7 separate regions of the Homo sapiens genome follow, and all the other regions are linked to region 2. Evidence: promoter capture Hi-C in 16 types of primary human blood cells and fetal thymus (Javierre and others, 2016). All regions are on one chromosome and are shown on one strand. Each heading gives the region's core, a stretch centred on a gene start or on the middle of the fragment in contact. The rest is flanking DNA. Distances are from core to core; before and after follow the strand shown. Region 1 overlaps AP2B1 (adaptor related protein complex 2 subunit beta 1). Region 2 holds the start of NLE1 (notchless homolog 1). Region 3 overlaps SLFN12L (schlafen family member 12 like). Region 4 overlaps AP2B1 (adaptor related protein complex 2 subunit beta 1). Region 5 overlaps SLFN14 (schlafen family member 14). Region 6 overlaps SLFN13 (schlafen family member 13). Region 7 overlaps AP2B1 (adaptor related protein complex 2 subunit beta 1).

Region 1 (2,700 bases), core at 144-2,643, 470 kb after region 2:
ATAATGTATTTAAAATTTTAAACTTTGCCTGATATATGGTAAATGCTTAATAAACTGCAGCTATTCTTGAGGAAGTGGCCTAACATTATGCACCTTCCGGTTGTTATAATCTTCATTTAGGCATTAGGAAGTTTACTTGTGTGGTGATTTGTTGTCAACCTAAGATGATAAAATATTGAAAAAATGCCATCTGTCTAGATCTCTTTCTAAGAATTTTTGTCAGAATATATTTGGTATTCATGTAGGCTATGTTAAACTGCCTATTAAAGGTAGGCCCAGAATGCATAGAAAAACTTAATGACTTAACTTTATTTAGTACGTTAATTATAGGATTGTTGTTATCCTTAAATATATATTAGTAAGTAACAATTACAAAATTAAAATATTATACATAAATGAAATTTAAAATGTGTAATACTTTTCATATCAAATGTCCATGAAGGAGTTAGAGCTGGCAGAATTTTAGGCACATATGATAATGTCAGTATGTGGTGAGCACTTGATAAGAGTAACATTGAAGGTAATACATTCAGTCTGTATCTGAGTTCCTCAAATTGTGTTTCATATTATAAAAGGAGCTGCTGTTAATTTTTGCAGGATTGAAGTTTGGGTAAGTGGAATCATTGGGGGCTGCTTTGATATGAGGCCAACTTCCCAGCTCTTGAATTTCCCACCAGTTGGTCTGAGTGTATTTCTGTCTCTACTTATAGAGAAAGCAAACACTTTTTGTTTTCCTTTTATAATGTGCTTTGTGGAAATCATTTTCTGTGTATTTTCACTTTTAAAAAATCATTACGTCGTTTTATATTATTATGAACTTAGGTTTTAAAAAATATCTCTTTTTTTTTTTTTTTTTTTTTTTTTTTTTTTTTTTTTTTGGAGACGGAGTCTCGCTCAGTCGCCCAGGCTGGAGTGCAGTGGCGCGATCTCGGCTCACTGCAAGCTCCGCCTCCCGGGTTCATGCCATTCTCATGCCTCACACTTCTGAGTAGCTGGGACTACAGGCGCCCACCACTACGCCTGGCTAATTTTTTTTGTATTTTTAGTAGAGACGGGGGGTTTCACCGTGTTAGTCAGGATGGTCTCAATCTCCTGACCTCGTGATCCGCCCGCCTCGGCCTCCCAAAGTGCTGGGATTACAGGCATGAGCCACCGCGCCCTGCCAAAATACCTCATTTTTTAGAGGAACAATTTTAAATTTACAGAAAAGTTACAAAGACAGTACAGAAAGTTTTCATATACGCTTCAGTCAGTTTCACCTAATGTTAACATCTTACGTAACCGTGGTACATTTGCCAAAACTAGGAAATTAGCATTGGGATGTTACTATTAACCAAAGTAGAATTTCACCAGTTTCAACACTAATGTCCTTTCGCTATTCCAGGATTCAGTCCGGAATACCAAATTGTGTTTAGTCACTTCCTTTTATAATGCATCAGTCTACTCTGTTTGAAGGTAGCTCGAAAACAGAAAAGTGCTTTACAACCATGAAATGGCATTTTTCATCCAGTCACCATAGCATAGTGGTTGAAACTCAGGCTCTAGAACCAAATAGATTTGGGTTTGTATCCTGGTTCTGCTATTTCTTAGACGAGTGGTGTCTCTAAATTTTAGCATCCTCATCTACAAAGTGGAGATTACAAATAGTGCTTCTATCGTAGGATTGTTGTGAATATTAAAGGACAGAGGGCTTGCAAAGCACTTAATACTGGTCCTCATATGGAGTAAGCCCCTAATAATAACAAACACATATCCTTTTTTTTTTCTTAAGAGACAAAGTCTTGCTCTGTCGCGTAGGCTGGAGTGCAGTGGCACAATCTCGGCTTACTGCAACCTCCATCTCCTGGGCTCAAATAATTCTCCCACTTCAGCCTTCTGAGTAGCTGAGAGTACAGGCACATGCCATCATGCCTGGCTAAGTTTTGTATTTTTAGTAGAGACAGGGTTTCACCATGTTGGCCATGCTGGTCTTGAATTCCTGACCTCAAGTGATCCGCCTGCCTCAGCCTCCCAAAGTGCTGGGATTACAGGCGTGAGTGAGCCACCATGCCCAGCAGAAACATATATTCTATATTGTACAGTGATTGTAGTGCCGGATATTAATAATTTTAGAAGGGTTAGTATTTCAGTGGCAAAATTTACTTTTTAATTTTATAAGATTAAAATTTTAAGGTTAAGATTAAAACTTTTAGGATGAAGAATTTTAAAGATTAAATTTTTTAAAGCTCTGAGGGCAACTTACCCACAAATGAAGCTAAATCTAAGAGTACTACTTACTACTTTTACAAGGTAATTATTCAAGGGTGTACGTTTAAAGTAGTTCTCAACAGCAACTTCCTGAAAGCTGGATCTGTTGTGTGTTGTTTTGGTGGTTTGCCAGTATATCAAGGCTCATTTGTCACTTTAAGATGACCTCAAGGCTGTAATTTGGCTGGGGAATACTTTACTCTTAGAAATGGGGAGATCATAAGTGGTGTGATAATAAGTGTTTTATTTTGTTCAAGTTGCAGCTTGCTTTAATGAATTTTAGGGGCCATGGTCCAAATAACTGTGATGGTTATAGGCATGCCTTTTATTTGTTTATCGATATTTATTTGTAGTGTTTTGGCTTTGAGAGTACTTGAATTTTGTTAAATCATATCTTAAACCACTTAAGTAATGAATTTTATTTTTTGTAAACCTTGTTACTATGTAATCAGA
Region 2 (2,958 bases), core at 101-2,600:
GTTTTCAAAAGCAGAGGCTCAGAACAACTAAGTAATTAGTTCAATGTCCTATTGCCAATGATTAATTCAGGTTCTTTACGTCCAAGATAGGATTAGCATATAGCATTATGCAGTGTTTCCCAAACTACCACACTACACTATATTTGTGTAAAAAGCTCCCAAAACGCCTGTTAAAAAATGTAGACTTTCTGCTTCATCCCAGAGTTTGGTTTAGTAAGGCTGGGATGGGGTCCAGGAACTGCAATTTTAAGGACCTCCCCTGTCCCCAGGGCAGCTCTTCAGTAAACACACTGGCTTAAAGGTTAAAAGCAAAGGCCGGGTGCGGTGGCTCACGCCAGTAATCCCCAGCACTTTGGAGGCCAAGGCGGGAGGATCACGAGGTCAAGAGATCGAGACCATCCTGGCCAACGTGGTGAAACCCAGTCCCCACTAAAAATACAAAAATTAGCTGGGTGTGGTGGCGCGCGCCTGTAGTCCCAGCTACTCGGGAGGCTGAGGCAGGAGAATCGCTTGAACCTGGGAGGCAGAGATTGCAGTGAGCAGAGATCACGCCACTACACTCCAGCTTGCCAGCCTGGCGACAAAGTGAGACTCCGTCTCAAAAAAAAAAAAAAAAAAGGTAAATAAATAAATAAATAAAAGCATGGGTATTCGGATAGTTTTGGGTTCCAATTCCAAATCTGCTACCTACTACATAGCATCGTGCAAAATACTGAGTCCCTCCGGGCCACGCTGTAAAATGGGGATATTAACGTGTCCCAGACTGGGGGACTGTGACAAAGAATCAATGAAATACAGCATCCGGTGCGTTCAAAGCTAGGCCCCTCTCCGCAGGTGGACCCCTTTGGTTGGCGTGTAAAGCGCTATGCCACTGATTCCATCTCTGACATAGGTGGGAGCTCACGCCAGGTGGGTCACCACAGTCCGTTAGCGGGGGACCATGAACCGCAGACCCTCGGTAATATGATTCCCCCACCGCATCCGCCCGGGGGTGGAGATGCGAGGCCGCCCTGGCCAGCCACTTACCTGGGCCAGTAGCGCGTTGCACACGAGCTGCAGCCTGTCCGGGGTGATGTCCACGGGCACGTCGAACGGGGAACCCAGCAGCTGCCCGCCCTCATCCTGGAACTGCACTAGCAACCGCTGCACATCGCGCGCCACCGCCTCGTCCTGCGCGAGCAAGTGGGGCGGGAGTCAGTCTGGTCGCCCGCCCAGAAGGGCCCCACTTCGCCTCTCTCAGGCCTCAGGGACCCGGGCCCTAGCGCCCCGCGGCGACGCCCCCCGCCCCCATCCACGCACACCCACCGGCACTGCTGCCGCCATCCTGCGTCCCCACGTGGAGGAGAAAGAGCCCGGCAGACAGAGCGCCGTCTCCGTGGTCGGGCGGGGTCGCCGCCGGCCACATCGCCCTCTGCTGTTGGGGAGGAGAAGCGTCCCGCTGCGCACGGCCTCAGGGATTAGAAATGGGCTTACCTGGTGCTCCTCCCGCCCCTCAACAGCCTTCACATTTATTTTTCGCCAGGGTCTTAGAGGACACAGTAAACTTTTGACTCTTCACAACAGGGATTCTTGCCCCATTTTAATTTAATTTCATTTTGAGACAGAGTTTCACTCCGTCGCCCAGACTGGAGGGCAGTGGTGCCACCACGGCTCACTGCAGTCTCGAACTTTCTGGCACAGCGATCCTCCCACCTCAGCCTCAGAGTAGCCTGGACTACAGGCACATGACACCCTGCCCGGTTATTTTTTTCTCATTTTTTGTAGAGACGAGGTCTCACTATGTTGCCCAGGCTGGTCTCAAACTCCTGAACTCAAGCAGCAAGTCCCCCACTCCCCAGCCTCAGTGTCCCAAAGTGCTGGGATTACAGGTGTGAGCCACCACGCCTAGCCTAGAAATTAGTATCCTTTTAAAAATGGATCAAGTCAAGGCTGGGCGTGGTGGCTGACACCTGTAATCCCAGCGCTTTGGAAGGCCCAGGCGAGCAGATCACTTGAGTCCAGGAGTTCGAGACCAGCCTGGCCAACATGGTGAAACCAGGTCTCTACTAAAAATACAAAAAAATTAACCAGCCGTGGTGGCATGCGCCTGTGGTCATAGCTACTGGAGAGGCTGAGGTGGTAGATTCTCTTGAACCTGGGAGGCAGAGGTTGCAGTGAGCCGAGCTCTCACCACTGCACTCCAGCCTGGATGACAGAGCAAGACTCTGTCTCAATAAATAAATAAATAAATAAATAAATAAATAAATAAATAAATAAATAAAATGGATCAACTCAATAATACTCGAGTACAAAAGCAAATCATTTCTACAATCATCAATGCTGTAAAGCAATAATAGTGATAATGACATCAACAAGTCAGGAATTGTTCTAAGTGCTTTCCCACATAACTCATTTAATTCTTACAACCCTTTTCTCCCCATATTACTGAGGAACTGAAGCAGACAGCAATGAACTTGAGCTCTTTTGCCTGAAACGAAGGATCTCCCTTGCCAACTCTCCTCTCTCTCCCTCCACTGCTCAGGCAGTCTCAAGCTCTGCCAAGTCATCCTCATGAACACAGCTTGAATCTGCTCTCCCCATCTCCACTGCCTCACTCTGGTCAGAGTCACCATCATCACCTGCCTGGACCGCTACAACAGCCTCCCGATGAGCCCCCCCATTTCCATTCCTGCCTCTTTCTACCCATTCTCCACGATGCAGCCAGGGTTATCTTTTCAGACCAAAAATCTGGCCTGCTGCTCTTCACCCTCAAACCCTGCGACGGCTCCCTTACATGCAGGAAAAAAAGAACACTCCTTATAATGGTCAATTCAGCCTTGCTATGTCCAGCCACCCCTCTCTTTAGGTTAAATCTTGCTGGCTTTTTCTGAGTTCTTACAAGGCATGGCTCTTCCTGCATCAGTGATTTTGCCCATGCAGTTTTTTCTGTCTGGAACTGTTATGGAGTGAATTGTGCCC
Region 3 (2,852 bases), core at 5-2,504, 370 kb after region 2:
CTTCAGTCTTTTGCGGTCGAAGTAGATGCAGTACCCGATGAAAAGGGCCCCGAATACTCCAGCGGCGATGGCTCCGTTCCGACCCAGCCTCTTCCCCAGAACGCTGAGTGTGGACTGCGGCGGTGGGGGAAAGGAGCGGTTGCCCACAAACCATCCGAGCACAGGGAGCCGCTCAGACCCGACGCCGGCGGGACAGGCACTTGGAAAGCAAGATCCAGGGTTCTGAAGATTAAAATCGTTAGTTCATTTACTATATTTGTGCAAGTTTGAGAGAGAGTCATGTGTATAGGATTACCACTGAGTTTATATTATTTTCTCTATGCCTGGAGAGTGTTTCTTTTGTTTTAGTTTATTTGTTTGTTTTGATTTTTTGCTTGTTTGTTTTTGAGACCTATTCTCGTTCTGTCACCCCAGGTTGGAGTGCAGTGGCGTGATCTCAACTCACTGCCACCTGCGCCTCCCAGACTCAAGCCATCCTTTCGCCTCAGCCTTCTGCGTAGCTGGGATTGCAGGAGCGGCCACCACGCCCGGCAATTTTTTTTTTTTTTTTTTTTTTTTTTGAGATGGAGTTTTGCTCTTTGTTGCCCAGGCTGGAGTGAAGTGGCACGATCTTGGCTCACTGCAACCTCCATCTCCCAGGTTCAAGCGATTCTCCTGACCCAGCCGCATGAGTAACTGGGATTACAGGAGCCCACCACCACACCCGGCTAATTTTTGTATTTTTAGAAGAGACAGGGTTTCACTATGTTGGCCAGGCTGGTCTCGAACTCCTGACCTCGTGATCTACCCGCCTCTGCCTCCCAAAGTGCTGAGATTACAGGCGTGAGCCACCGCACCCCGCCAGTGTTTCTTAAAGAGTTAGCATATTTAAAGAATTGGATGTTTTGGGCTTAATTTCTTATTTTTTCCCTGGGATTCTTAGAGACCCCCTCTACTAGATTTATATAAACACTTAGTAACATCTTCAAACTGATCAATATAGGACCATAGAATTTGAGAGACATTAATATCCTTATTTTCTAATATCCACTGAAGATAGTTTATCTTTCTGAGGAAACTATTTCCCTTAGTTGTCCTTCACATATCACTACCACTTCACAAGAACAAACAGTTTTTGCAACTCTATTACTTCAGCATCAAAAAGGTTGGGGTCCCTACTAGGGGCATGGAATCCTCTAAGATTCTTCATTCCATTTTCCAGCTCCCCAGCATATAGGAACCTCAGTGCACCAGGCATTAGTTGTCCTAAAGCAAAACATTCCATCACTTTGATCAGATTAAAACTCTAACCAGTTCTGCCTTTCCATTCTGGAATACGTGTTTAAGAAGGATAGAACTATACTCCTTCTTTTTGTAGTACAGGATTTGTCAGCCTTGACACTATTGAGATTTGTGGCTGGAAAATTGTTTGTTGTGGGGGGCTATCCTGTACCTTCTAGGATGTTCAGCAGTATCCCTGGCCTCTATCCACCAGGTACCATTAACACACTCCCCTCAAGGGGTGACAACCGGAAATATCTCCAGATATTATGTCCCTTGGAGGGCAAAATCCACCACCCCCTCCACTCTATTGAGAGCCACTGGTCTAGTCTAATGATGAGCAGATTAATTTTAACAATGAGCAGACCTATTTTAATGATCCATATACCAGTGCCATCCAACAGAAATATAATGCAATACATAAATGTGATTTTAATATAGTAAGCACATTTTTAAAAGGTAAAAATAAATAAGCAGCTTTACTTTTAATAAAATATTTTATTCAACTAAATATTTCCAAAATATTATCATTTTGACACGTAATCCATTTAAAAATGATTCATGTAATTTTTCATTCTTTGTCATACTAAGTTTTTGAATCCCAGTGTCTATTTTACACTTACTTGTCATCTCAATTTGCACCAGCCACATAGCAAGCACTAATTTTCTACACATGGCTAATGTGTGCCATGGGCACTGCAGTCATATACAGTGACATCCCGCAAAAGCCAGAATAGTCAACATAAACAAATTAAGAAAACAAACAAATAGCAGTGAGGGCACAGATCTTGGTTTTTGCCATTCTTCAGTAAAAGGAACCAGAGCTTCTTGGAGAAATGGCTGATTTTAGGGCTGGGGCAGAGAAAAAAAAATCACAAGCATTCCTATACACCAACAACAGACAAGCACAGAGCCAAATCATGAGTGAACTCCCATTCACAATTGCTACAAAGAGAATAAAATACCTAGGAATACAACTTACAAGGGACGTGAAGGACCTCTTCAAGAACTACAAACCACTGCTTAAGGAAATAAGAGAGGACACAAATAAATGGAAAAACATTCCAAGCTCATGGATAGGAAGAATCAATATTGTGAAAATGGCCATACTGCCCAAAGTAATTTATAGATTCAATGCTATTCCCATCAAGCTACCAGTGACTTTCTTTGCAGAATTAGAAAAAACTACTGTAAATTTCATATGGAACCAAAAAAGAGCCCATATAGCCAAGACAATCCTAAGCAAAAAGAACAAAGCTGGAGGCATCACACTACCTAACTTCAAACTATACTACAAGCCTACAGTAACCAAAACAGCATAGCACTGGTACCAAAACAGATACATCAACCAATGAAACAGAACAGAGACCTAAGAAATAACACCACACATCTACAACCATCTGATCTTCGACAAAACTGACAAAACAAACAATGGGGAAAGGATTCCCTGTTTAATAAATCATGCTGGGAAAACTGGCTAGCCATATGCAGAAAACAGAAACTGTACTCCTTCCTTACACCTATACAAAAATTAACTCAAGATGGATTAAAGACTTAAATGTAAAACTCAAAACCATAAAAACGCTAAAAGA
Region 4 (2,856 bases), core at 134-2,633, 450 kb after region 2:
CAACCTCAGCCTGATTTCAGTTGTCCTGGATATGGTCTGGGTGTGAGGATTTTAAAGGTTCTCCAGGTGGCCAGGCATGGTGGCTTATGCCTGTAATCCCAGCACATTGGGAGGCTGAGACAGGAGGATTGTTTGAGTGCAGGAGTTTGAGACCAGCCTGGGCAACATGGTAAGACCCTATCTCTATGAAAAAAAATTTAAAAATTAGCCCTGTACGGTGGTGCACACCTGTAGTCCCAGCTATTTGGGAGGCTGAGGTGGGAGGATCACTTGAGTGCAGGAGGTTGAGGCTGCAGTGAGTCGTGATTGTGCCGCTGTACCCCAGCCTAGGCAACAGAGAGAGACCCTGTCTCAAAAGAAAAAAATTAAAAAGAAAGCTCCCCAGATTATTTTAATGTGCAGCCATGATTGAGAACTACTGCTAGCTGCTAACAGTGCTTGGTAGATTTGATTGGGGGGAGGAGGAGGGAGAAAATATAGGAATTTAATAAAGTTGTAGAATATATGACTTTGCCTCTTTTAGTACCCCTCTTTGGTCCTGCCCAACTTTTTCCTCCTTATTTTTATTACTTACACCTCACAAAAGCCATTAGCCACTTGTCATTCAGTCTCAGCTTTTTCTGATTTTCTTTTGGAAATATGTTTATTTCTTCTTCTGTTAGCATTTTGTGTGCTTTGACGAACAAAATGTCTATAATTATATAAAGGGATACAATTACAATTAAATAGTTATAATTTTAAAACTCTCCTAATTCTTCAAACCTACTCTTGAAAAGTGTCCTGGTGACCTTTTTTTAATTCAGGCATTTGTAAAAGTTTGAGACTGCAGATTGAATCACTGCTAATAAACATCATACTTAAAAAAAATTGATAGATTGTGTTCCCTGTACTTCCTGCAACACCCACCAGAACTGCCACTGAAACATATTCTTTAAATTTATGCTTTTGGAATTGGAATAATTTCTGTTACATCCTGCTTTGATTCTATAACACCTGCTGCTGTTCACAATTCAGACTTTCTGAAACCCCGCCGTTTGTCCTTCACTGTTCCCGGAAGTGAATGAGAGGAACTCTAAGAGCTGGATTTGGCAGGATGGGACATGGTGAAGAGTCCTATGAAGAATGACTCTTTAAAGGGCCCAGCTTTTCTTGCTATGCTACTTTTGTAGCTGTTGATTAAATAGAAATTTTGGAACAATTTTTTTGCCTTATTGGCCATGGATATTGAAACGAAAAAGTGCTCTACTTCTGTGTCTTACTAATTTCATCCTTTCCACATAATGGTTTCAGGCAAATCACGTAGTGTTTGTCCCCACTATTTCTTTCTTTTTTTTTTTTTTGGAGGAGGGGAGGTCAGGTTTTAATGTCCCAGTCCTCGGGCGCCGTCATCCCGCGCCTGCCAGGCCCGGCGGCCATGTCGCTCACTCGGGTGGCGGCCAGCCTGCCTCATCAGGGCCTTCCGCGGAGGCCGCCCCGTCGCCCTCGAGCACCAGCTTCACGTCCAGCTCCAGCTGCCCGGTGTAGAAGCCCACGGCGGCGCACACCCAGAGCGGGCTGGTGGCGAGTACAGCGCCCGCAGCTGCGCCCCCTAGCGTCAGCTGCATGGGCCCCCGCAGCGCTGCCAGGCCCCGCAGGCGCTGCCCCACACCGCACACAGGCCGCCCAGCAGGAAGAAGCCATATGCTGCTTCGTGATCCATGTCACTCTGCATGAAGGAGATAACCCCGATGCCCTATGCCAGGAGGCCATTGTGGAACCAGGAGAAGAAAGCTGTCTCGTGCGCCTTTCGGAGAGGAGCCTGGCGCCTGCACGGTCCAGCTCGGACACAGGTGGCGGCGAAGCCCCGTTGTGGGGGCCGTGGCCGGGGGCGAAGGACCCCTGGGCGCCCCCGCTCCGGGGCCACTGAGGCAGCAGTAGCGACCTCCGGAAGCGGAGACTGTCCCCACTGTTTCTATGCTGGTAAATGAGATCTGGTTGAAAGGAACGACAGGAACAGTCTTGAAGGTGGAGGAAAGTCTTTTGAGGCAGTATGGTAGATGAGCTGGAGGATGTAGATGGAAAGTTGAGATGGGAGTAGTCAACCTCTTTTTCATGGACTTAGTGTTTTTTTTCCGTTTCTTTTAAACAATATTAGGGTTGTTACTTTCTTTTTTATTTTGGTTCCGGCTTCTTGCAGATAGGTGAGCCTGGAGACCAGGCCTTAAAATAGTGGTTACAGTCCCTGACAGTTTACAGTGCGGAGCCTAAGCAGTCATTCAAGATTGTACCTTTGGAAATGACTCCATTGTGTACCATTCTTGGTTTCAAGATTATTCTTGTTTGATTGAATAGCAAGGGCCTTAAAGCCCACTGATTTATTAAAGTACTGATTAAAGTAGTGATTCTCAACATTGGGTGTGCGTTAGAGTCACTTGGTGGAGCTCTTAAAGGTATAAATATGAGTTCTCTTTGACATTATGATTTATTTGGCCCAGAGTGGAGCCTGTACTTTGCTATATTTAGTATTTCTCAGGTAATATTAGTGTGTGGCCAGGGCTGAGAACCTTTGCATTCAAGAGTCAGGAGACACAGTGCTAAGCCCAACTTTGTCACTGACTCTGTGAACTTTGAGCCTCATTTCTTAATCTGTAAAGCCGAGCGTGGGTAAATGAGGTAATACGCGCCTGCTCCCTACCTACGTTTATGTTCTCCTCCAGACTTTAACATTCTGATGGAAGATCATCCTTCATATACTGTTCTCTCCCCATTGTAGCTAGATATAATGAGATTTGGTTTTTCCCACTCTTGTGGTTCTTGAAGATCTGGATTGCACCTTCCTCTCTGGCCATAATTTAAAAGATTTTTAAAACTTACTGA
Region 5 (2,739 bases), core at 21-2,520, 410 kb after region 2:
GCCCTAGCATCTCCTTTTGCATCATTTTCCCCCACTTGGTGGTGCCCTAAGCCCAGTGGCTTAAGGTTATTAGCTCCTAATGTTACTGAAACAATTCAAATTTGTCAACAATGTTTTGCTTGAAAGAATTAGTGGAGTAGTGGAGTCATTTATTTTTATTTTTTTATTTTTATTTATTTATTTTTTTGAGACGGGGTCTCGCTCTGTTGCTTAGGCTGGAGTGCAGTGGAGTGATCTTGGCTGACTACAACCTCCACCTCCCAGGCTCAAGCAATCCTCCCACCTCAGCCTCCCATGTAGCTGGGACTACAGGCATACACCACCACGCCTGGCTAATTTTTATATTTGGGGGAGAGATAGGGCTTCGCTATTTTGGCCAGGCTGGTCTCAAACTCCTGGGCTTAGGCAATCTGCCCACCTTGGCCTCCCAAAGTGCTAGGACTGCGCCCAGCCTCAGAGTTATTCTTAAACAGTGTTTCTCTAGAATATCATCTCTAAAATGAGGCTATTCCAATTTTGACTGGGATGATCAGCCTGCACAATTTTTTCAACAGGTTTATAGACAATAAAAGGAGACCTTTCCTAACTCATTGCTGATGGCATACTGTAACTTTCCTTTAAAAGTTGCTTAGGCTGGCCAGGAGTGGTGGCTCACACCTGTAATCCCAGCAGTTTGGGAGGTGGAGGTGAGTTGATCACTTGAGGTTAGAAGTTCAAGACCAGCCTGGGCAACATGGCAAAACCCCATCTCTATTAAAAATACAAAAATTAGCCGACATGGTGGTGTGTGCCTGTAATCCCAGCTACTTGGGAGGCTGAAGCACGAGAATCACTTGCACCTGGGAGGTGGAGTTTGCAGTGAGCCGAGGTCACACCACTGCACTCCAGCCTGGGTGACAGAGTCTAAAGAAAAAAAAGTTGTTTAGGCCATAGAATCCAAACATTTCTTGACCTCAGTTTATATTCTGAGTCTTTGGAACTAAAAATGTTAGATAAGGAACACTGTAATGGGAGAACACTTATAAGAAAAATAAATTTCTATTTTTTAACTAACATATGTGATCAAATACCCACAAAAGGCAGAGAAAGGGGTTCCTCCCTGCTGATGGGGACAATGACTTCACTTCCCTTTACCTGACTGAGTATCCAGCATCATGACCACCCACTGCTCAGCTGTCAGCCGTGTGACAGAATTGTCTTTCATGATCCAGGAATCTGGGGCCTCTGCAAACACCACGCAACAGAAGGGCTCCACTTGAATCACACAGACATAACCATCCAGGACATCTTTTTGGTACACATTCAGGATTTTTGTAGTGAAATTTACCTTTGGCTTCTCACAGCAGAAGTGGAATGTAGGCAATTTTTCTATGCAGTTTTCGATTTCTTTTTTTAGTAAGTCAGGATTCACTTTTTCCCACTTACATCCAACCACTTCTTTGCTCTTATCATCCACCCCAATGAGGACATATCCCCCTTGAGTGTTGGCAAATGCAGAAACATAATGAGGCAGCATTTCCTTAATCCGAGGTATGACTTTTTTGGTGGTGAACCTTTTAAATTCAACATGTGTTGACTCAGTAAAGTTGAGTTTCTCCTTATACATGAGTTTGTCCTTTTTAAAAAATTCTGAGGCCAATATCCTCATATCTTCCTCTTCCTGAATGCATCTATTGAGAACCTGCTGAGGATGCAACTTCTTCACCCTTGGTCTTCCTCTTTGGGCTCTAAACCCCTTCTCTCTGAGAAGCTCCAGGGCACTGCTAGCACTCAAGTTGATAGCAGAAGTCACATCTCTCCGATACAAATTGGAGCGCAAGCTGCAAATCCTTAGTGGAAGGCTGAAAACATCTGGGCTCCATGACTTCACAAAAATCAGGAGATTGTGCCCCTGCTGCATGTAGTCAAGGTATTTCTGTGAACCTGAAGGAAGGAGCTTTTGAAAAGAAGTTTCCAAATCCTGTCCCAGCCCATGGCATTGGTAACTATAGGTTTTATCATCAATCTCTGCTTTGATCACACCACCTCCAGAATTTAACAGTGCACATATAGCCCGGATAATTCTAGAATTCTCAGATCTTTTCAAACAGCTGTTGGTCATCTTCTTCCTGTTTTCTTCTCCAAAAATCACTCTGCCCACATCTACTATTACCTCAGGATACGGCATTTCAGTATCAGTCTTGAGACTCTCCATTTCAGCAGCCCCTCTGTGCTCCAAACAATAAAAGAAAGGAGTTCCTATAATCAGGACAGAAATATTGTTTCTATATTAATAAGAATTCCAAAGATTACAATATTTTCTTCAAAACTATCAATTACTGGAGATATATTTTAATGTTGGAAGTCATCTCTCTCTATATGTATATTTGTTGTTGTTGTTTGTTTTGGGTTTTTTAGTTTTGTTTGTTTGTTTTTGAGATAGAATCTTGCTCTGTTATGCAGGTTGGAGTGCAGTGGCACAATAATAGTTCTCTGCAACCTCAACCTCCCAGTTCAAGTGATTCTCCAACTTCAGTCTCCCTAGTAGATGAGACTACAGACACGTGCCACCAAGCCTGGCTAATTTTTTTTTTCTTTTTTGTTCTTGCTATTTTTTTTTTTTAAGAGATGGAGTCTTGCTACGTTGCAATCCTCCTGCCTGGGCCTCCCTCCCAAAGTGCTGGGATTACAGATGTGAGCCACCGCACCCAACTGGAAATTATCTTTGATACTGCTGTTTTCTAATCACTTTGCCAAATA
Region 6 (2,700 bases), core at 144-2,643, 300 kb after region 2:
TATTTTTAGTAGAGACAGGGTTTCCCCATGTTGGCCAGGATGGTCTCGATCTCCTGACCTCATGATCTGCCCGCCTCGGCCTCCCAAAGTGCTGGGATTACAGGCATGAGCCACCACGCCTTGCCTGGTGCATATCTCTTTAACCCACAACCTACAAATCTGGTAAAATGAATGATGTCACCCTTCTATGTATCTCATGGACAGTGGAGCATGTCAACTGAAATGCAATTTACTGAGCCTGAGAAAGTGAAAGCCATGTATTCAATTACTCTTGCACCTTGGATTCTTAATGTGGAATGTTTAAAAACTTTTCTGATAAGCTAATGACTATAAAGCTCTCAGGTAAGTAAAGAAACTATTTGGTGGTAAACAGACCTAAGGAAGGCCTAATATATGAATTACCTTGCCCTTCATAAATGTTTGGACATACGTAGGATATTTGTGTATCATATTCTTTTGTCAAATCTCATACTTAATATGTTCAATGTATGAAGTTAAGCCATTTCCCTCCTTGAAAAATCTAGGTTTCATTTTGTAAGTAGGAACTCCGAGAAAAAAACCTTGCTAAAAAATGTTTGGGCAGCAGGGAGAGGGGTTACATAACATTGTCTATGGGCTTGAATTATTATTTGGTGCCACCTTTGAAGCATTAGCGAGTCGTTCCCTCTAGCCTCTTCCAAAGAGAAATTATTTGTGGTTTTTCTATATTCTTATATTCTACCAGGTGAATGTTTTTATTCCTTTTACAGACATAATTCCTCCATCCTTGAAAAGTAGACCAGAAGTGGCTAGTTATTCCATTGTTCCCCTTGTAGTTGTACTAGATCACTGGTTTCCAAACCCAGCAGGGCATCAGAATAATTTGGGAAGCTTGCCCAAATGCATATGGCTAGGCCTTTCCCCTGGAAATTAAGCGTTCATAAGTTCTTGGTGTGGGCCTGGAGATCTGCATGTTTAACTACCTTCCATGGCATTTCTAATAATCAGCCAGATGTGGCAACCAATGGGCCAGATGATTTCTAAAGGCACCTGAAACTCATCCCCAAGAGGCTTGTGGCATTGTCACTGTGTACACCTGGATCTGCAGGACACAATCTTTCATGGATTTGTTTTCCACGAAATGTATTAAATGACTTCCTTCTCTCCTGATGTAAAAACTGGCAGTCAGTACCTGGAAATAAATGTTGTTGTAGATCAGCTTTGTGTTCCAGACCTTTCTTAGAATACACTGGTCTGCAAAGTGAAGGACTGTCAGATAGACTCAACTGAGACTCAAAGGCCTCAGCAAAGTCTGGAGGAAACTCTGAAAGAAAGAACATTTTAATTTACACTATATGATTTCATGTCTCGCTATTGGAATAGGCTGTACAAGGCTGTGTCTAAATTTCATCTAACATGGTACAAGTCAGGCCACAAAGTCAGATGCTTTACCCTTTCTTGACTCTATGTCCAGGTTCCCAAAGATTCATCATTAAAAGCCCTTTTTCTGATCCTTGAATGGTGTTTCCCCATGCAATATAATGCCCCCTCTTCCATGTTTGAATAGTTCTTTGCTTGAATTGCAGTGGAAAAAAACTCTCTTTAAGTTATAATCATCAGGTTTTTATATCCCTGTGCACGCACCTCCACTAACCTCAACTTAAACAAACCTCAACCAACACTAGCTCTTGTCTCCCAGAGTTGATTTTATGCTAATCTGAGGTACAAGCTAATCACTATTATGAGGCTCCAACAGATTCCAATTCAATGGTTTTATTAAAGGAACCAATTTCCAAGGTTTTTCCTTTGCTTCTTCTTTTGTGGGAAATCACCATTCACAAAATATCTCATTTTGGCTTTTTCTCACCCAATAAAACTTCCCATCTATGAAAAGCATGGAGATTTAGAGAAAGTAAATTTCAGTGGGTGTGAGAAGGTCAAGCTTAGAGAATAAAGAAGGAAGTGGTATTGGGGAAGAGGTAGAAAGGTCAGGAAGGGAGAATCTGGTTCCCTCTTACCTGGATCTGCGTCCATCATTTTCTCTACCCATTCCTCAGTTGTCAAGGGGCGGATGTACTTCTCCCTCACCATCCATGACTTGGGAGCTTCCGAGAACACCACACAACAGAATGCCTTCACTTTAATCACACAGAGATAGCCATACAACTCTTTCCCACAAAACACTTCTACGATTTTGGTGCTGTACTCTACCCGAGGTTTTGAAGAGCAAAAATGAACAATGGGCAACTTAGAAATTGCTCTTGCAATTACATTTTTCAAAGAGTCAGGGTCAACCTGTTCTTTGGCACATCCCAGGACTTTCCTACTCTTATCATCCACTCCAATAAAAAGATAGCCTCCCTCAGTGTTTGCAAATGCAGAGATGTACTCTGGAATTATATTTTCTACATATTGTTGGATATGTTTTGTAGAGAACTGTTTAAACTCTATGGATGGAGACTCAGGAAAAGATAGGATTTCACCATATTCAATAGTGTCAGTTTGGAAAACTTCATATGCAGGATTTGACTCAGATATGTTCTGGTATACAGCTTTCATAATTTTACTAGGTGGAGACCCTTCATTAATCAGATTATATTTGGACTGTCTTTCCTTGGTCTTCAGGAAATCGAATGCCTGTCTTGAATTCATGTGAAGCACAGAGGTGCCAGATCTACAGTATAATGAAGAACTAAGGCTGCAAATGCGGGAATTGAAAGA
Region 7 (2,700 bases), core at 37-2,536, 500 kb after region 2:
CTTTTTTCAAGACTGAGTCTAGCTCTGTCACCCAGGCTGGAGTGCAGTGGCGTGATCTCGGCTCACTGCAACCTCCACCTCCCGGGTTCAAACAATTCTCCTACCTCAGCTTCCTGAGTAGCTGGGATTACAGGTGCATGCCACCACGCCCAGCTAATTTTTTTTTTTTTTTTTTCCAGTAGAGATGAGGGTTCACCATGTTGGCCAGGCTGGTCTTGAACTCCTGATCTAATGTGATCCTCCTGCCTTGGTCTCCCAAAGCACTGGGATTATAAGTGTGAGCCACAGAGCCTGGCTGAGGCTTGCTTTTTCTGTCCAATTAATTAATGAAGTCTGAGAAGTTATCATAAAACAGTAAGTATGCTGCTGGGTGCTGTGGCTCACACCTGCAATTCCAGCACTTTGGGAGGCCAAGGCGGGCGGATCACTTGAACTCAGGAATTCGACCAGCCTGTGCAACATGGCAAAATCCCATCTCTACAAAAAATACAAAAATTAGCGGAGCATAGTGGCACACGCCTGTAATCCCAGCTACTTGGGAGGTTGAGGTGGGAGGATCGCTTGAGCCCAGGAGGCAGAGGTTGCAGTGAGCTGAGATCATGCCACTGCACTCCAGGCTGGGTAATACAGCAAGACTCTGTCTCGGAAAAAAAAAAAGAAAGAAAAAAAGAATAAGTATGCCTATGTAAGTCTTTTTACCTGGAAGTTTTCTGTTTTTTCCCCAAGTTTGTGAAATAAGAACCTAAATATTTATGGCTAGTGAGTACCAATTTAAGTTTAGGATGCAATGTGGTCGGCTGAATTGTGTTAACTTAAATTGGTATATGTGCTGCCGAAGCGAGCACATGTTAACTTAAATTGGGTAGTGAGGTTCTGATGATGCTACTTCCACTGATTCTGGACATGACTGAGCAAATTTCTTTCATACTGCTTTTCTTCTGTCTCTATAGTAGAGTTAATTAATACTGTTCTTTACCTGTGCTGAGAATTAAGTGAAGTATATGTGAAATCTTAGTGCTTTTAAGTAAAATGGGAGTATAATTAAAAATATTATTAGTTAGGGGGAAAAACCCAACCCTTGAATCTGAGGCTTCATTTCAAAAATTTATCTTTTTCTCTTACCTGTTACACAGAAATTCAATACAATATTCAGTTCAACTGAGTAAAGAATACAAACAAAGGCCGGGCATGGTGGCTTATGCCTGTAATCCCAGCACTTTGGGAAGCCGAGGCAGGTAGATCATCTGAGGTCAGGAGTTCGAGACCAGCCTGACCAAAATGGAGAAACCCCATCTCTACTAAAAATATAAAATTAGCCGAGCGTGGTGGCATGCGCCTGTAATCCCAACTACTCGGGAGGCTGAGGCAGGAGAATCACTTGAACCCGGGAGGCAGAGGTTGCAGTGAGCCAAGATCGTGCCATTACACTCCAGCCTGGGCAAGAAGACCTAGACTCTGTCTCAAAAAACAAAACAAAACAAAACAAAAAAATGTCTAGACGTTAGTAATTATTCTTTGTGATACATGGAATAGAAGTCTTCATGTTTTTCTGTCTATGAACTAGGGGCCACCATCATCAGAATCATTTGGGCTGCTTGTTAAAAATACTAATTACTAGGCCCTACTTTTGATGTAATGAATCAGAATCTCTGAAGTATGGCCCCTGGGTTCTGCACTTTCAGTGGCATTCCTGGTATGTTAAAATGTTGATGCACATTATAGTTTAAGAATTACTGTTTTAGTGCTGGCCTGGTAAGTATTGTTTTGGGACCTCTTCCCCTGAGGAAGGCCTATGGGTCTAGCAGTACAGTAGATCCAAAGCCAAATTATCTGAGTCACCAAACATTTAATGGCAACTTAAGATTACAAAAAGGTCCTGTATTTTTATTTATCTCGGTCTTGACGGTCTGAATTACTGTGGCCTCCATGTAAAATGTGAGGCAGTTGGTGAGGACTGGCTTACAGTAGGCCTAACAGGTCATCCCTCAGAACGACAGAGTTTGAGCAGTTAGGAGATTCTTCCCTACTCCTGACTTTTCAGCCTTGGGAGATTTGCACTCATTTCTCATAGGATTGTATTTTTCAAGTTAGTGTCTGTTTAGACTTTGATCCAGTAACTCTATCTCCAGTAGTTTGCCATATTGCAGCATTTTGAATAATCTGTAGAGGAACTCTCAAATTTTTTTCATATATATATAATTTTTTTTTTTTTTTTTGAGATGGAGTCTCACTCTGTTACCCAGGCTGGAGTGCGGTGGTGCAATCTCAGCTCACTGCAGCCTCCTCCGCCTCCTGGGTTCAAGTGATTCTCCCTCCTTAGCCTCCCAAGTAGCTGGGATTACAGACATCTGCCACCATGCCTGGCTAATTTTTGTACCCTTTGTAGAGATGGGATTTTGCCATCTTGGCCAGGCTGGTCTCAAACCCCTGGCCTCAAGTGATCAGCCTACCTTGGCCTCCTGAAGTGCTAGGATTACTGAGCCACCGTGCCTGGCTGAGATTTTTGAATTTTGTGAATCCCTATAGGAATTTTTCTTTTTGGTCATTTGGTTAAATTGTTTACATTACATATGGGAGAAATAATTTGAAGAAAAAGCATTTTATTTTGATGAGTATATTATTAAACTATGTATTATAAAGTTGAATACCTTTAAGATATTACTAGTCCATAAAGACAAACTGAATTTTCTAAGTTAATAA

Evidence for each region. The method cuts DNA at HindIII sites, captures the fragments that hold promoters and counts their contacts. A CHiCAGO score of 5 or more calls a contact.
Region 1: a contact is called between a fragment that was not itself captured here and the fragment with the promoter of NLE1 in region 2, in 3 of 17 cell types (activated CD4 T cells, total CD8 T cells and total CD4 T cells). The highest score is 6.7, in activated CD4 T cells.
Region 3: a fragment that was not itself captured here is called in contact with the fragment with the promoter of NLE1 in region 2 in 3 of 17 cell types (M2 macrophages, non-activated CD4 T cells and activated CD4 T cells); the score reaches 6.3 in M2 macrophages.
Region 4: a contact is called between a fragment that was not itself captured here and the fragment with the promoter of NLE1 in region 2, in 6 of 17 cell types (non-activated CD4 T cells, activated CD4 T cells, total CD4 T cells and 3 more). The highest score is 11.5, in non-activated CD4 T cells.
Region 5: a contact is called between a fragment that was not itself captured here and the fragment with the promoter of NLE1 in region 2, in 9 of 17 cell types (non-activated CD4 T cells, naive CD4 T cells, total CD8 T cells and 6 more). The highest score is 14.7, in non-activated CD4 T cells.
Region 6: a fragment that was not itself captured here is called in contact with the fragment with the promoter of NLE1 in region 2 in 1 of 17 cell types (activated CD4 T cells); the score reaches 5.0 in activated CD4 T cells.
Region 7: a fragment that was not itself captured here is called in contact with the fragment with the promoter of NLE1 in region 2 in 4 of 17 cell types (total CD8 T cells, activated CD4 T cells, total CD4 T cells and 1 more); the score reaches 6.9 in total CD8 T cells.

The regions. Positions count from the first base shown.
Region 1 is chr17:35,615,304-35,618,003 of GRCh38, forward strand. The region is part of intron 5 of AP2B1 (adaptor related protein complex 2 subunit beta 1); the gene reads left to right. Among named protein-coding and RNA genes, the nearest start is that of AP2B1, 29 kb to the left of the region's middle. The HindIII fragment of the contact is 6,619 bases long and covers 1-2,700 here.
Region 2 is chr17:35,140,953-35,143,910 of GRCh38, forward strand. NLE1 (notchless homolog 1) reads right to left here and starts at 1,351. Exons shown (of 13, transcript NM_018096.5): 1 at 1,306-1,351; 2 at 1,027-1,170. The coding sequence starts at 1,323. RefSeq lists an enhancer at 782-1,659. The HindIII fragment of the contact is 3,765 bases long and covers 1-2,958 here.
Region 3 is chr17:35,515,100-35,517,951 of GRCh38, forward strand. All of the region lies in intron 2 of SLFN12L (schlafen family member 12 like), which reads right to left. It also overlaps the pseudogene TOMM20P2. Among named protein-coding and RNA genes, the nearest start is that of SLFN12L, 21 kb to the right of the region's middle. The HindIII fragment of the contact is 4,488 bases long and covers 1-2,852 here.
Region 4 is chr17:35,595,194-35,598,049 of GRCh38, forward strand. All of the region lies in intron 2 of AP2B1 (adaptor related protein complex 2 subunit beta 1), which reads left to right. It also overlaps the pseudogene LOC100420062. Among named protein-coding and RNA genes, the nearest start is that of AP2B1, 9.3 kb to the left of the region's middle. The HindIII fragment of the contact is 5,699 bases long and covers 1-2,856 here.
Region 5 is chr17:35,555,869-35,558,607 of GRCh38, forward strand. It overlaps SLFN14 (schlafen family member 14), which reads right to left. Exons shown (of 6, transcript NM_001129820.2): 3 at 1,135-2,238. The coding sequence starts at 2,194. Among named protein-coding and RNA genes, the nearest start is that of SLFN14, 3.6 kb to the right of the region's middle. The HindIII fragment of the contact is 4,309 bases long and covers 1-2,739 here.
Region 6 is chr17:35,442,618-35,445,317 of GRCh38, forward strand. SLFN13 (schlafen family member 13) reads right to left here. Exons shown (of 6, transcript NM_144682.6): 3 at 1,998-2,700; 4 at 1,172-1,303. Among named protein-coding and RNA genes, the nearest start is that of SLFN13, 4.8 kb to the right of the region's middle. The HindIII fragment of the contact is 1,051 bases long and covers 869-1,919 here.
Region 7 is chr17:35,644,388-35,647,087 of GRCh38, forward strand. All of the region lies in intron 12 of AP2B1 (adaptor related protein complex 2 subunit beta 1), which reads left to right. Among named protein-coding and RNA genes, the nearest start is that of AP2B1, 58 kb to the left of the region's middle. The HindIII fragment of the contact is 3,257 bases long and covers 1-2,700 here.